Regions from separate parts of the Homo sapiens genome. Here all the other regions are linked to region 3. The links are contacts of gene promoters, found by promoter capture Hi-C in blood cells and fetal thymus (Javierre and others, 2016). All regions are on one chromosome and are shown on one strand. Each heading gives the region's core, a stretch centred on a gene start or on the middle of the fragment in contact. The rest is flanking DNA. Distances are from core to core; before and after follow the strand shown. Region 1 overlaps GALK2 (galactokinase 2). Region 2 overlaps GALK2 (galactokinase 2). Region 3 holds the start of ATP8B4 (ATPase phospholipid transporting 8B4 (putative)).

The links. The method cuts DNA at HindIII sites, captures the fragments that hold promoters and counts their contacts. A CHiCAGO score of 5 or more calls a contact.
Region 1: a fragment that was not itself captured here is called in contact with the fragment with the promoter of ATP8B4 in region 3 in 5 of 17 cell types (monocytes, M1 macrophages, megakaryocytes and 2 more); the score reaches 6.9 in monocytes.
Region 2: a fragment that was not itself captured here is called in contact with the fragment with the promoter of ATP8B4 in region 3 in 1 of 17 cell types (erythroblasts); the score reaches 5.1 in erythroblasts.

Annotation. Positions count from the first base shown.
Region 1 is chr15:49,228,933-49,232,967 of GRCh38, forward strand. The region is part of intron 3 of GALK2 (galactokinase 2); the gene reads left to right. Among named protein-coding and RNA genes, the nearest start is that of GALK2, 61 kb to the left of the region's middle. RefSeq lists enhancers at 2,644-3,315, 3,316-3,986. The HindIII fragment of the contact is 9,875 bases long and covers 1-4,035 here.
Region 2 is chr15:49,287,858-49,292,030 of GRCh38, forward strand. All of the region lies in intron 7 of GALK2 (galactokinase 2), which reads left to right. Among named protein-coding and RNA genes, the nearest start is that of GALK2, 120 kb to the left of the region's middle. The HindIII fragment of the contact is 3,014 bases long and covers 1-2,785 here.
Region 3 is chr15:50,117,037-50,121,014 of GRCh38, forward strand. ATP8B4 (ATPase phospholipid transporting 8B4 (putative)) reads right to left here and starts at 2,197. Exons shown (of 28, transcript NM_024837.4): 1 at 2,087-2,197. The HindIII fragment of the contact is 5,193 bases long and covers 1-2,200 here.

The sequences.
Region 1 (4,035 bases), core at 1,296-3,795, 890 kb before region 3:
GATCTGCCTGCTTCAGCCTTCCAAAGTGCTGGGATTACAGGTGTGAACCACCACACCCAGCTTCACTGAGCTTTTTAAATGTCATTACTTTGAATTCTATTTCTGGAATTTAATAAATTTCTTTGTCATTGGAATCTGTTGCTGGTGAATTGTTTTGCTTCTTCCAAGTTTTTGAATTTGCTTTTATAGACAGTGACTTTTTCTCAAAGATGTACCTATGATATTGGTTGGGTTGGCATGTTGGCATTGATTCTTGGCACTTGTAGTATTGTAGTCTCTGTATAATTCCTTTGGCTATAAACAGTATCACTGGTCTCTGATTTCCTCAGTGACTTAGGATATGGTTGTTGTTGGAGACTGTGGATCCTGGCAGTTGTAGCAGTGAGCTGGGTGAGTGGCTGGGTCCTTGGACCCCTGGGTAGTTAGTGTCACCTGTGTGATGGCAGTAGCAGTAGTAGAACAACCCTCTGGCTCCAAAGCATTCTGCATTGTTGTTGGTGGCTGTATTAGGCTGGGTGAGTTGGTCCCCTGTGCCACAGGTGTTGCATGCAGGTGGAAGCTAGCTGTGGTAGTAGTAGTACGTTGGGTGGGCTCATCTTTAGGTCTCTGGGAGAGTATTCAGGTGCCAATGGTGGTAGATTGGTCACAGCCATTCTTAGTACCCTGGATTGTATGCTTAGGCATAGGGGTGGAGTCTGGCAGGGCGGGCCTATCCTCAGGCCTCCTGGTGGTGTATGCAAGTGGTAGGCAGTAGTAGAGTGAACCAAGCCACCTAGTGGAATGCCCAGGTGGTGGTGGCAGTGGCTGTGATGTGGCCCAGCTGCGGGGGAGAGTGGGGTTGCTTTTACTGGCAGCAGTCGTAGACAATTGGCTGGGGAGCATGCACTTTGGCTCCAGGTAGTGGCTGCAGGTGGGGTAGCGTTTCCTCGGGGCACTTGAAAATCCATGGTGGCTCTGCTGCTGTGAATACCAGGGTTCTGCCAGTGGCTCATGGTTTGGCCTCAGCAGTGCAATGGAAGTTGCTGTGAGTGAGGGAGTCTGTATTTAGGGCTCGTGAAAATACACAGCAGTCCCACTGCTGGGAGTATTGTAGTTATTGCCAGTGGCTTACATTTTGGCTCTGACAACAGCAGTTAGCACTCGTGGTGTCTGTGGGTAGGGGACATCAGAGAGGTTGCAAGGATGTGGAGACAGGAGCTGTTGATCCCCATGGCAGGATGCGGTCTAGTAGAGTCTGGGATCTCAGGATAGTGATGTGCAAGTTGCTTAAGACTTGGGGGTGTGTGGAACCCAGCATGAATTTCCTCTTTGGAGCAATGCCATCATGTGATTTCCAAGTAGTTCCTCTGTCAGTCGCATGGTCCTAAAGGGTTGAGGCGCTCTCCTATGGCTAGGATTGCAGGAGTCCTTGATAGTAATGTGGACCACTTGGGGTGTTTCTCTTGCCCTTTACCCACGCTGAAGAGCCTCTCCAGGCTCCCAGCTGATTCTGGCTGAGCAGGCTGCCCTGATTTCCTCTCCTTCCTTGCCTTAGGTGTTCCTTGTCACTTCTTGTTGAATTCAGTGTTCTCTCTTACATGATCTATTCTAACTATGATTGTCAACTTGTTATTTTGGTTCTTCTTTATGGAGGAGGCAAGTACCAGATGCCTACAGGCATTCTTCTGTGCCTCCGACTTCATATTTTTTTTGATGCTACTCTTATTATAAATGGTCTACCCCAGATCCAGACACACACAGGTGTCTTATAATGGTCTACCTACCCCAGGTCCAGACACACACAGGGTAGACACTGGGCAGATGTTTCTTTGAAGAACAAGTAAATGAATAAAATATGTAAGTGGAAAGTATTAATGTAATAATGGGTCATGTCTGCTCATTTTCAGGATTCTTTTCTCAGAATTCTACAAACATGGAAGTGGGGGTAGAGAAAGCAAATGGATAATGTAATGCAGGGTTGAGAATTGGTGGGAAAATGAGTGGTTTTGAACCTCAGGAAAAGGCTAGGTAGAGAGGTGAGATAGGGATGTGGGAAAGAGCAAAGATCAATAACTAATCAAAAAGCAGTTTTTTTTTGTTTTTTTCTGACAGACTTGAGCCATACTTCTAATTCTGTGGGAGCTGGCACTTTTCAGTTTGTATTAGTCCATTCTTACACTGCTATAAAGAAATACCTGAGACTGGGTAATTTATAAATAAAAGAGGTATAAATGGCTCATGATTCTCTACAGGATATACAGGAAGCATGGCTGCGGAGGCCTCAGGCAAATTACAAACATGGTGGAAAGCAAAGGAGAAGCAGGCATGTCTTACATGAGTGGAGCAGGAGGCAGAGGGCTGGGGGCAGCTACACACTTTTTACACAACCAAGTCAAGTGAGAACTGTATCACGAGAAGAGTACCAAAGGGGGAAATCCACCTCTGTGATCCAATCACTTTCCACCAGACCCCACTTCCAAAACTGGGGATTATAATTTGACATGAGATTTGGGCAGAGACACAAATCCAAACCATATTATTCTGTCCCTGGCCCCTCCCAAGTCTCAGGTACTCACATTCCAAAATTCAGTCATCCTTCTCAACAGTCCTCAGAGTCTTAACTCATTCCAGCATTAACTTACAAGTCCACAGTCCAAAATCTCATCTGAGACAAGGCAAGTCCCTTCTGCCTATAAGCCTGTAAAATAAAAAATGGGTTAGTTATTACTTCCAACATACAGTGAGGGTACAGGCACTGGGTAAATACTTCTTTTCCAAAAGGGAGAAATTAGCCAAAAGAAAGGGGCTACAGGCCCCATGTAAGTTTGAAACCCAGCAAGGGAGTCATTAAATCTTAAAGCTCCAAATAATCTCCTTTGATTCCACATCTCACTTCCAGGGCACACTGGGGCAAGGGGTGGGCTCCTAAGGTTGGGAAGCTGCACCTCTGAGGCTTTGCAAAGTAAAGCCCCTGAGGCTGCTTTCATGGGCTAGTGTTCATGCACCTGCGGCTTTTACATGTGCATGGTACAAGCTCCTGGTTGATCTACCATTCTGCAGTCTCGAAGACAATGGCCCTCTTCTCACAGCTCCACTAGGTAGTGCCCCAGTGGGGCTCTGTGTGAGGGATTCAACCCCAGATTTCCCTTCAGTACTGCCCTAGTAGAGATTCTCCATGACGGCTCTGCTCCTGCAGCAGGGTTCTGCCTAGACATTTAGGCTTTTCTACACATACTCTGAAATCTAGGCAGAGGCTCCCGAAGCCTTAACTCTTGCACTCTGAACATTGGCAGGCTAAACACCTCATAGAAACACCAAGTTTTATGGCTTGCACATTCTGAAGCAGCAGCCTGAGCTGTATCTGAAGTCCTTTCAGCCACCCCTGGAGGCAGAGGGGTCAGGATATGGGGAGCAGTGTCTTGAGCCTGTGCAGGGAAGTGGGACCCTGGTCCCTGTTCATGAAACCATTCTTCCTTCTTAGACCTACATGCCTGTGATGGAAGGAACTGCTGCAAAGGTTTCTGAAATGCTTTGAAAGTCTTTTCCCCTTTGTCTTGGCCATCAGCATTTGACTATTCTTTACTTATGCAAATTTCTGTAGCTGGCTTGAACTCCTCCTCCAAAAAGGCCTTTTCTTTTCTACCACATGGCCAGCCTTCAAATTTTTCAAACTCGTACACTTTGCTTCCCTTTTAAATATAAGTTTCAGTTTCAGGTCATTTCTTTGCTCACGCATATGAACATAGGTTGTTAGAAGCAGCAGGCTATATCTTGACTGCTTTGCTGCTTAGAAATTTCTCCTGTCAGTAACCTAAACCATCACTCTCAAGTTCAAAGTTCCACATACCCCTAGATGCCTCCAGGCTCTTTGTTAATGCATAACAAAAATGACCTTTACACTAGTTCCCAAGAAGTTCCTCATTTTCATCTGAGACCTTCTTAGCTGGGATTTCATTGTCCATATCACTATCAGGATTTTCAAAGCAACCGTTCAACAAGTCTCTAGGAAGTTACAAATTTTCCTCATCTTCCTGTCTTTTTCTCAGCCCTCCAAAT
Region 2 (4,173 bases), core at 29-2,528, 830 kb before region 3:
CACTAAACCAGTAAAGACAATTTTTCTTTGTTTTGCATTAATGCTAGCAATTTCTTCTATTCTCAACTTCTTTCTCATCTTGTTTCTCTGTCTCTGTCTCTTTCTCTCCATCAGCTTTCAAAAGCTAATTCATGCAAATTCATAAAAAGTCAGAGCCTTGTAGAGCATTTGACTAAAATTAAAAATTTTTCAAAGCAAACTCGAGATTTATAATTACTACTTGTATAAATGATATCTTAATGAAGCACATTTTTATGATAAAGTAGCCAAGGATCTTTAGTAGGTACAACATTTTTCATATTTTACACACATTTGGGGCTTAAATGTTTCCAGAAGTGCTTTTCTTATACAGTATCCCTTAGTTATGTTGAAGAATAAAATGTGTGATACCCATGATAAGTATTATGGGAAGTCAGGTAGGGAAGAGAAATTATACTGTTGCTTTTTGCATACCCTGAGCTCCTTGTGGCAACATGAGAAGCAGTGAAAGAGAGAGTTTCATATGTTCCTTTGACACTTCAAGGAAAATTTACAGTGATTCTTTACAGGGCCTGTCTGGTCAGGGGCCATCAGTCACCCAGTTTTTCAGCTCCTTTCATTTAGTAGTTGGTATGAAACTTATTCTTTGTCTGGTGATAGAATGGGAGGAGAAGTTGGCATAATAGTCTCAGGGTTTTGGCAGTTTCCTTGAATTTGAGCAGAGAAAAACCAAATACTCAAGAATGTAGCCAATTTCACGCAGCCAGTTGATTCAATAGTGCATACTCTGCCAAGACTCTGGCATGGAGTATTCAGGCAATGGTGAGTCCGAGCTGCATGGCAGAGGACATACATACTGGGGAATAGGGGTAATGTGTTTAGTGGAACCAGATTGTGGCAGGACCTTCAGTGCTATGCTCAGCCTTACCCAGGCTTGGCTTTGAAAGCAGTGGTTGTTAGCAAGGTATTTTAGAAATATTAATATGACAGCAGGAGCTTTTGCCTTGGTTGAAGAGAAGTAGGTACTAGAGTATCAGTGAGGATGGGATAAAAAGGGAGAGATGTGAGAGAAGCTCTGACTGGACCTAGTAAGGGTTGGGTACAGGCTCTCTGTGATTGGATTTTTGTTTTCCTTCTGGCATATACTTCATTACTTTGAGGAAGTTTTCCTTGACTACCTCCTGACCTCAGTTAGGTGAAACACTCTTTTATGTGCTCTTACCATGTCCTGTATTTTTCTATTATAGCAGTTTATCATAATTGGATTAAGTTCTTTATGATAAATGTAGTTTTAATTTAACCTCTGTCTTTTCTGGTGGGCTGTGAGCTGCACGTGGTCAGGAGCCATGTGTGCCTTACTCACTGCTGTCTGCCTGGAGCCTGGGAAGTAATAGGCACTCAGTAGACACTCACTGTGAGCAGATGCACATGAATGAAGGAAATGAAGAAAAGGTGTTGAGTCAATAAGGGCTGCAGCTTCAAGGTGCAATGGTTGGTGAAAAGCATAGTGCTGCCATTGATAGGTTTTGAGAAGGCAGGATGGACTAGAAGTTGACTAAAAAGTAGGAGATGATGAGAATTCTTCATGAATATCTTAACACTTTCTCTACCATACCCTCTTACCAGAAGACCCAGGGAGTCTCAGACCAAGAACAGAGGGCTTAGTATTTTTGTTTGTGTCTGGGACAACCTGAAAGTGCTAGGGAGTTAATATCCTTGAGAGCCACCTCAATCAGTGGTAACTGGGAGTTATTGGGTAAATACTTTGGCTTTCTTGCCCATGGTGGGACATGACTGAGCTTTACACATACAGGTTCCTGAGAACCTGTGATTTGAAGCTCAGCGGGCCCAGACTCACCTGCCAATATCAGTACACCTCATATTGGCGTCTTTTCCTGTTTCACTTTCCATTCCTCTCTTAATGCTTCTTAGGATCACCTTCCCCTCAAATTCTTACCCTCAAATTTTTGTCACAGGGCCTGCGTCTGAGAGAAACCAACCTAAAACAGAGTTTTAGCACCATTTATCAGTGCCTCTTTCCATGACTGTGGACAAAGCACTTGTTGCCTGCTTTTTTGTCCACAGAGCATGGAACAGAGCTCAGGAACCTCTCAGAAGTGGTATCTGATAGGAATACTTAATGTTTGCCATGGTGAAAAGAAAGTGGTGAATGTGGACAAAGAACTGCCTTCTCTTATTTCCCCACCCTACTACTGAGTGAGAAAGTTGTGACAAAATAACCTATAGCCCTGACTTATAGCCCTGCTTCACAAATGTGAAGGAGGCCAGTCACCTGGGCCACAAGTGCCTCCATGAAGCTCTGTCTTTGAACAATGGTGATCTTATCCACCCATTTCCTTCATCTGAAAGTCATCTTTCTGTTTTTCAAGCCAAATTTCAAAGGGCTTAAGAGGCTTTTCTATTTGACTCCCTCAATGTAGTGTAATTCAACAGCTCACGGGCTGTGCAGCTGTCATTGAGGGCATATGGTAGATTTCATCCTTAATTGAAATACACACCAAATTGGCTGTGTGGATTCTCCAGCTGAGGGCTCACTGGACAACTGGTGTCACAGTAAAGTGGGATATTGCTGGAGTGAATGTGAACTCTATGTTAGTGCCTCAATCTGCAGAAGAGCACATCAGGAGGCTGCCTTTGAAAACTGAATCTTGTGGGCTGTAGCCATCCCTTGCAGACTTTCTCCCCACACATCACTGGCCCAGTTTTCTTGGATCAAGTGCCTGGGGCAATGTGACTGGTTCAAGAGAGAATGGGAATGGGAACTTGGAGATTACTGTGGACTGAAAGCTTCTTAGGAAGAGCCCACTGTCATCTCTTGGGGGCAGTTCTGTGATGTTTTTCTTTTTTTGTTTGGAAGGAACCCATTTATCAAAGTGTTTTTAAATTACTGGAATGTTCACTTCTAGCACAGATCTAGGTTTGTGTTTTGAAATGCGTTTCTAAGACTTGATCGGTGATTTTAATTCATGTGGGTAACATGATATAGTTATCATGCATACCTCATTGAGAACGTGGCCTAGGGGCAGCAAGAAAGAGTTATAAGACCTGGATTCAGTTTCCAACTCTGTTATTAACTAGTTGAGTTACTTTGTTTTTTTGTTTTGTTTTGTTTTTTTGAGACCGAGTCTCACTTCATCACCCAGGCCGGAGCACAGTGGCATGACTTCCGCTCACTGCAACCTCTGCCTCCTGGGTTCAAGCAATTTTCATTCCTCAGCCTCCTGAGTAGCTGGGATGTCAGGCACATGCCACCACGCCCAGCTAATTTTTGTATTTTTAGTAGAGACAAGGTTTCGCCATTTTTTTTTTTTGCTTTTTGTTTTTTGTTTTAAATGACACCATGTTCCATGAAATAATTGAACCGAAAATCATAGTTCTATTGTTTTGTTTCCCAGTTTGGCCTTAAAATCATTAACTCATTTCAAATATACGAGCCAGGGTTTTAAAAAGAGGATTAAATTAATATAAGAACTTCTGTTATTAACATTCTTCAGAAGTCAGTGGCTGTAACCAGAGTACAATAGTCTTTTGGTAAACCCCGCTTCCTGTCAAAAAGAGAAAATCATCAACATAATGGAAGAGTAAATCAGATGCACATTTTCTTGAAGACTGATTTCCCCTTCTCTTGTTTCTTTTTGCTGCTTAAAATGCCCCTCTGTCTTCACACCCAGGCAATGAATATTGTAGACCTCAGGATAAGAGAAATCCTCACTGTTTTGATTGCCACCTACTCTGATATTGCTTGGGGAGAATGACAGAAATATATTCTGGATTGGGGTTCCCATGGGTGGTTACAGATTTGGTTTGTACTTAACCCGCACTGTCAGATTGAGGAGGTACCTCAGGATGCAGTTAGAAGCCAAACTCTTTTTCTTGAGGGTAGAGGAACATATAGCTCTACTACCACCAGTGACCTAATGAAGTGCTTCCCATAAAGTCACCAATGAGGTTTTCATTTCAAATTTAGGACTTTACCCCAAATGCCCATATAATGCCATTTTCAAAGAGACATATAGTAAACAGGAAGTACCCTAATTGGATGTACAGTATCCTCTCAGGACCCAGGTCACATGAGATTTAAGTAGTTTTCTCTTGACTTCCTAGGGAGGAATGCAGTAGGCATGAACTGAATAAGGATAAAAGAGTAAAATTATTCAAAGAAACAGCCCTGAG
Region 3 (3,978 bases), core at 947-3,446:
TTTTTTATTTTTTATTTATTTATTTTTTTGTGGAGACAGAGTCTCGCTCTGTCACCCAGGCTGGAGTGTAGTGGCCTGATCTCGGCTCACTGCAACCTCCACCACACGGTTCAGGCGATTCTCCTGCCTCAGCCTCCTGAGTAGTTGAGATTACAGGAGCCCACCACCATGCCTGGTAAATTTTTGTATTTTTAGTAGAGAGGGCGTTTCATCATGTTGGCCAGGGTAGTCTCGAACTCCTGACCTCAAGTAATCCACTTGCCTCAGCCTCCCAAAGTGCTGGGATTACAGGCATGAGCCACTGCATCTGGCCAAACATACATTAAGTTTAATTTCAATGACAGCTACAATTTCCAATTTACTTTTAGATGGTTAGTTAACTCTTTTCCTACTAAATGAAAATATTCAATATGCCACATATGAAAAAAATAAAATTCTCCCACCCACAAAAAAATCCTCCAGGGGCACAAAAAAAATCATTTGTTCCCTCATTTTTAAATATTTCTGCATGATGAGACAATATAAAGGCACAATATAGGTTAAAATAAATCACTCTGTGGTTTCTCAAAAAAAGTGAAAACAGATCCACCATATGATCCAGCAATCCCACTTCTGGGAATACATCCAAAAGAAAGGAAATAAGTACCTTGAAGAGATATCTGTACTCCCCTGTTTATTGCAGCACTATTCACAATAGCCAAGATATGGAAGCAATAATATTTCTTCTTGAGGAATAAAATTTTTAAATGTGGTATTTATATACAATGGAATATTATTCAGCCATGAAAAAGAATAAAACTCTATCATTTGCAGCAACATGGATGGAACTGGAGGATATTATGTTAAGCAAAATAAGCCAGGCACAGAAAGACAAATATCACATATCCTCTGTCATATGTGGGAGCTAAAAAAGTTGATCTCATGAAGGTAGAGAGGGAGAATGGTGGTTACCAGAGGTTAGGAAGGGGAAGAGGAAGAAGGGGGTGAAGGTAGGCTGGTTAATGGGTACAAACATACAGTCAGATAGAAGGAACAGGTTCTAGTATTTGATAACACGGTAGTATGACAATAGATAATGATAATTTATTTTTTATTTATAATAAACGATATAGATATAAACGATAAAATAAACGATATAGATAATGATAATTTATTGTATCTCAAAATAGCTAGCAGATTTGGAATGTTCCCAACACAAAGAAATGGTAAATGTTTGAGGTGATATATATGCTAATTACACATCGTATGCATATACCAAAATATCACATGTACCCCATAAATATGTGCAGTTATTACATATCACATAAAAAATAAAAAATACATTTAAAAAAATCAAAACTGAAATCACTCTGAGTTTACATTTTGTAGTAAAGGCCAGCATGGAGCAACAGCTGAGTAAAAGGGGATACTTCATGGGCACAGGTGTTGGTAATCCCACAAGAAAACCTGTGTTTCCTCATTTACTTTCTAACAAGACTTCAGCTTCCAATTAATGTTTTTCACCAGTTTTCTTTTCTTCAAAACAGCTAATTGTTAACCAGGGACCTGAGACACTCTCTTGCCTATAAACAAAACAACTAGAAGGATACCTTTTTCTGTTCAGACAAATTTTAGCACTAAAAACATAACCCTCAAACCTCAGAGGGATAGCTCAGTGCAAACTGTTCATGTCTAAAGCATAAATTGACCATAAACAATATATTGAATAGGTGCACTGTATACAAACCCCGTGAAAAAAATAAAACCAACTACTACCAAAGGAAGTGACAAAGACCTACAAACCAAGAAGAAATGTACCTTTATGCTACTATCATTGGTCATTTAATAGGCATGCTAACAGAGTAAAAAATAGACATTTCAAACAACAAAAAAGAAAATGTCACATCTCCCATTTCCAACTAACTCCCCCAAATTTATTTTTTAGCAAAAGGGGAATAATAAAGAATATTTGTGAAACCTTAGTCACCAAGATGAAAACAGCAAAACAAAATAGGGATCTGGAGAAAAGAAACAGATCGTTCCAACCAGCCCACAGCTAAATTTCCACTTCATCTCACTAACCATTGAATGCTACCCATCTACTCACCTCAACCCAGACTTAATCCTCTCCCCCAAAAGGAAGATTTCTCAGCAGTGCAGGAAGATCAAACAGGTATCCATTCCGTGACCATGCCAAGGAGAAAAGCAAGGCTACTCTGAAAGCTTGAGGGATGATACAGAAAACAAACTGGGTCTCTAGGGGGCATTCTCAAAAACCTGAGATCAACTCCTGGAAAAACACTCTTGACCACTTACCACCACCGGAAGCTGCTAGATGGCAATCAGAATCAGCATCTCATCAGAAGAAGAGGAAGACCTTACAAGAAAGCAGCTTCACTGTCAGTGAGGAATTGAGGGAGAAAAGCACTCCTTGGAAAAATGCTGAAAGCCCTGAAGAGCCTCTCCTCCCCTAGTTGCCTGCTCCTGCTGACAGGACAGAACTGGTTAATCTTGGGGAAACAAAAGGAAACTCCCAAGAGGCTGGCTTCTGAGGATGGCTTCCTCTGTGGGAATCAAGAATTCAGGAGGATGAAAATGAACAATGGAAGGGGACACCGGCTACCAGGCCTACTTACCAAACTTTTACCAGCCCTTGACTGAGGAAGATAAGCAAATCTGTTTGCAGTTCCCACCTGCTTTTGCAGAGATGAAAGAATCAGCAGTGGGTTTTTGTCACTTTTTTTTTTTTTTTTTTTTTTTTTTTACAGGGGAAGTTCAGCTCTCTTATGGATGAAAGCTAAGCATACTCAAGTGACATTTAGTAGGCAAAGCAATGACACTTCTTTCCCAACATCCTTAATTTCAGCACAGAGGATGCAAACATTAACCCTGATGGTACCAAAGAACAAATGCACATAGGAAATGGATTTACATCTTTTAGTTTGGAATTGCTTTTAAGGGGATTCTGGTTGTTAAAGCGGGATTAGATGAAAATAAAATATTTTGGTGCATATCTATTTTTAAAAGGAAAAATATGGCTTCTTTTAAATATGCCTAAAGCCATCTAGGAATTTTCCAGAAGTTGCATCAGATTTGCCAGTTAAGTACTGAAATCAAATAGATTTTAATCATGTCTCTATAACCAGAGCAAGCTAATCCCCTGCGCACCATCAACTCCACTCTCCTGGAACATCCTCACGCTGGGCCCTCAGGTTTTCACAGAAACAAGGGCCTTTTCCTACCAAGGTTCCACAGTAACAAGAAACTACAGATTTCTGGAAATAAGAGAGATGGCTTTCTTTCTTACATGATAAAAGAGGACCAAGAACAGCTTAGAGCAGGAAGCAATCATCTCTTTAAAATATTTAAAATAAAAAACACTTTTAAGTGAAAAACATTTTTAAGTATCACCTCTATACCATTTTTAAACCTATCATATGGGGCAAATATAAGTTTGGTAATTCCCTTTGTTAAAGAAGATATAAGGAAATCAGGGCCTTTTCCTTTTCCTATACTGTTAGTGGGAATATAAATTGGTAAAATATTTTTTAAAGGAAACTGAGTATAGTAGTGCCTATCAAGTATTGAAATGTGTATGTGTTTTTATTTCTTAGGAATTTACCTTATAGAAAACCACACACACGTGCAAACATATCTCTAAATATGTTAATTATAGCACTATGATAGCAACAACAAAAAAACACCTAAAAATGGCTTACATATAAGAGACTGCCTAAATAAGTTAAGGTATATTGATACAAAAGAGTACTATGTAGCCATTCAAAAGAGGGTAGAATTGGAGTAAGGAATCAGGTCATCTGAGTTTAGTTCTGTCTCCACCAGTGACTGGCCAGGTGACTATGCAAGCTCCTACACTTATCTGGGCCATCTGTAAAAAGATGATCATTATAGAACTTACCTCATAGGATTGTTGCAACTAAAACAGTGCCTGGAGCAAAGTAGAGACTCAATAAATTTAGCTATTATAAATAAGAGATA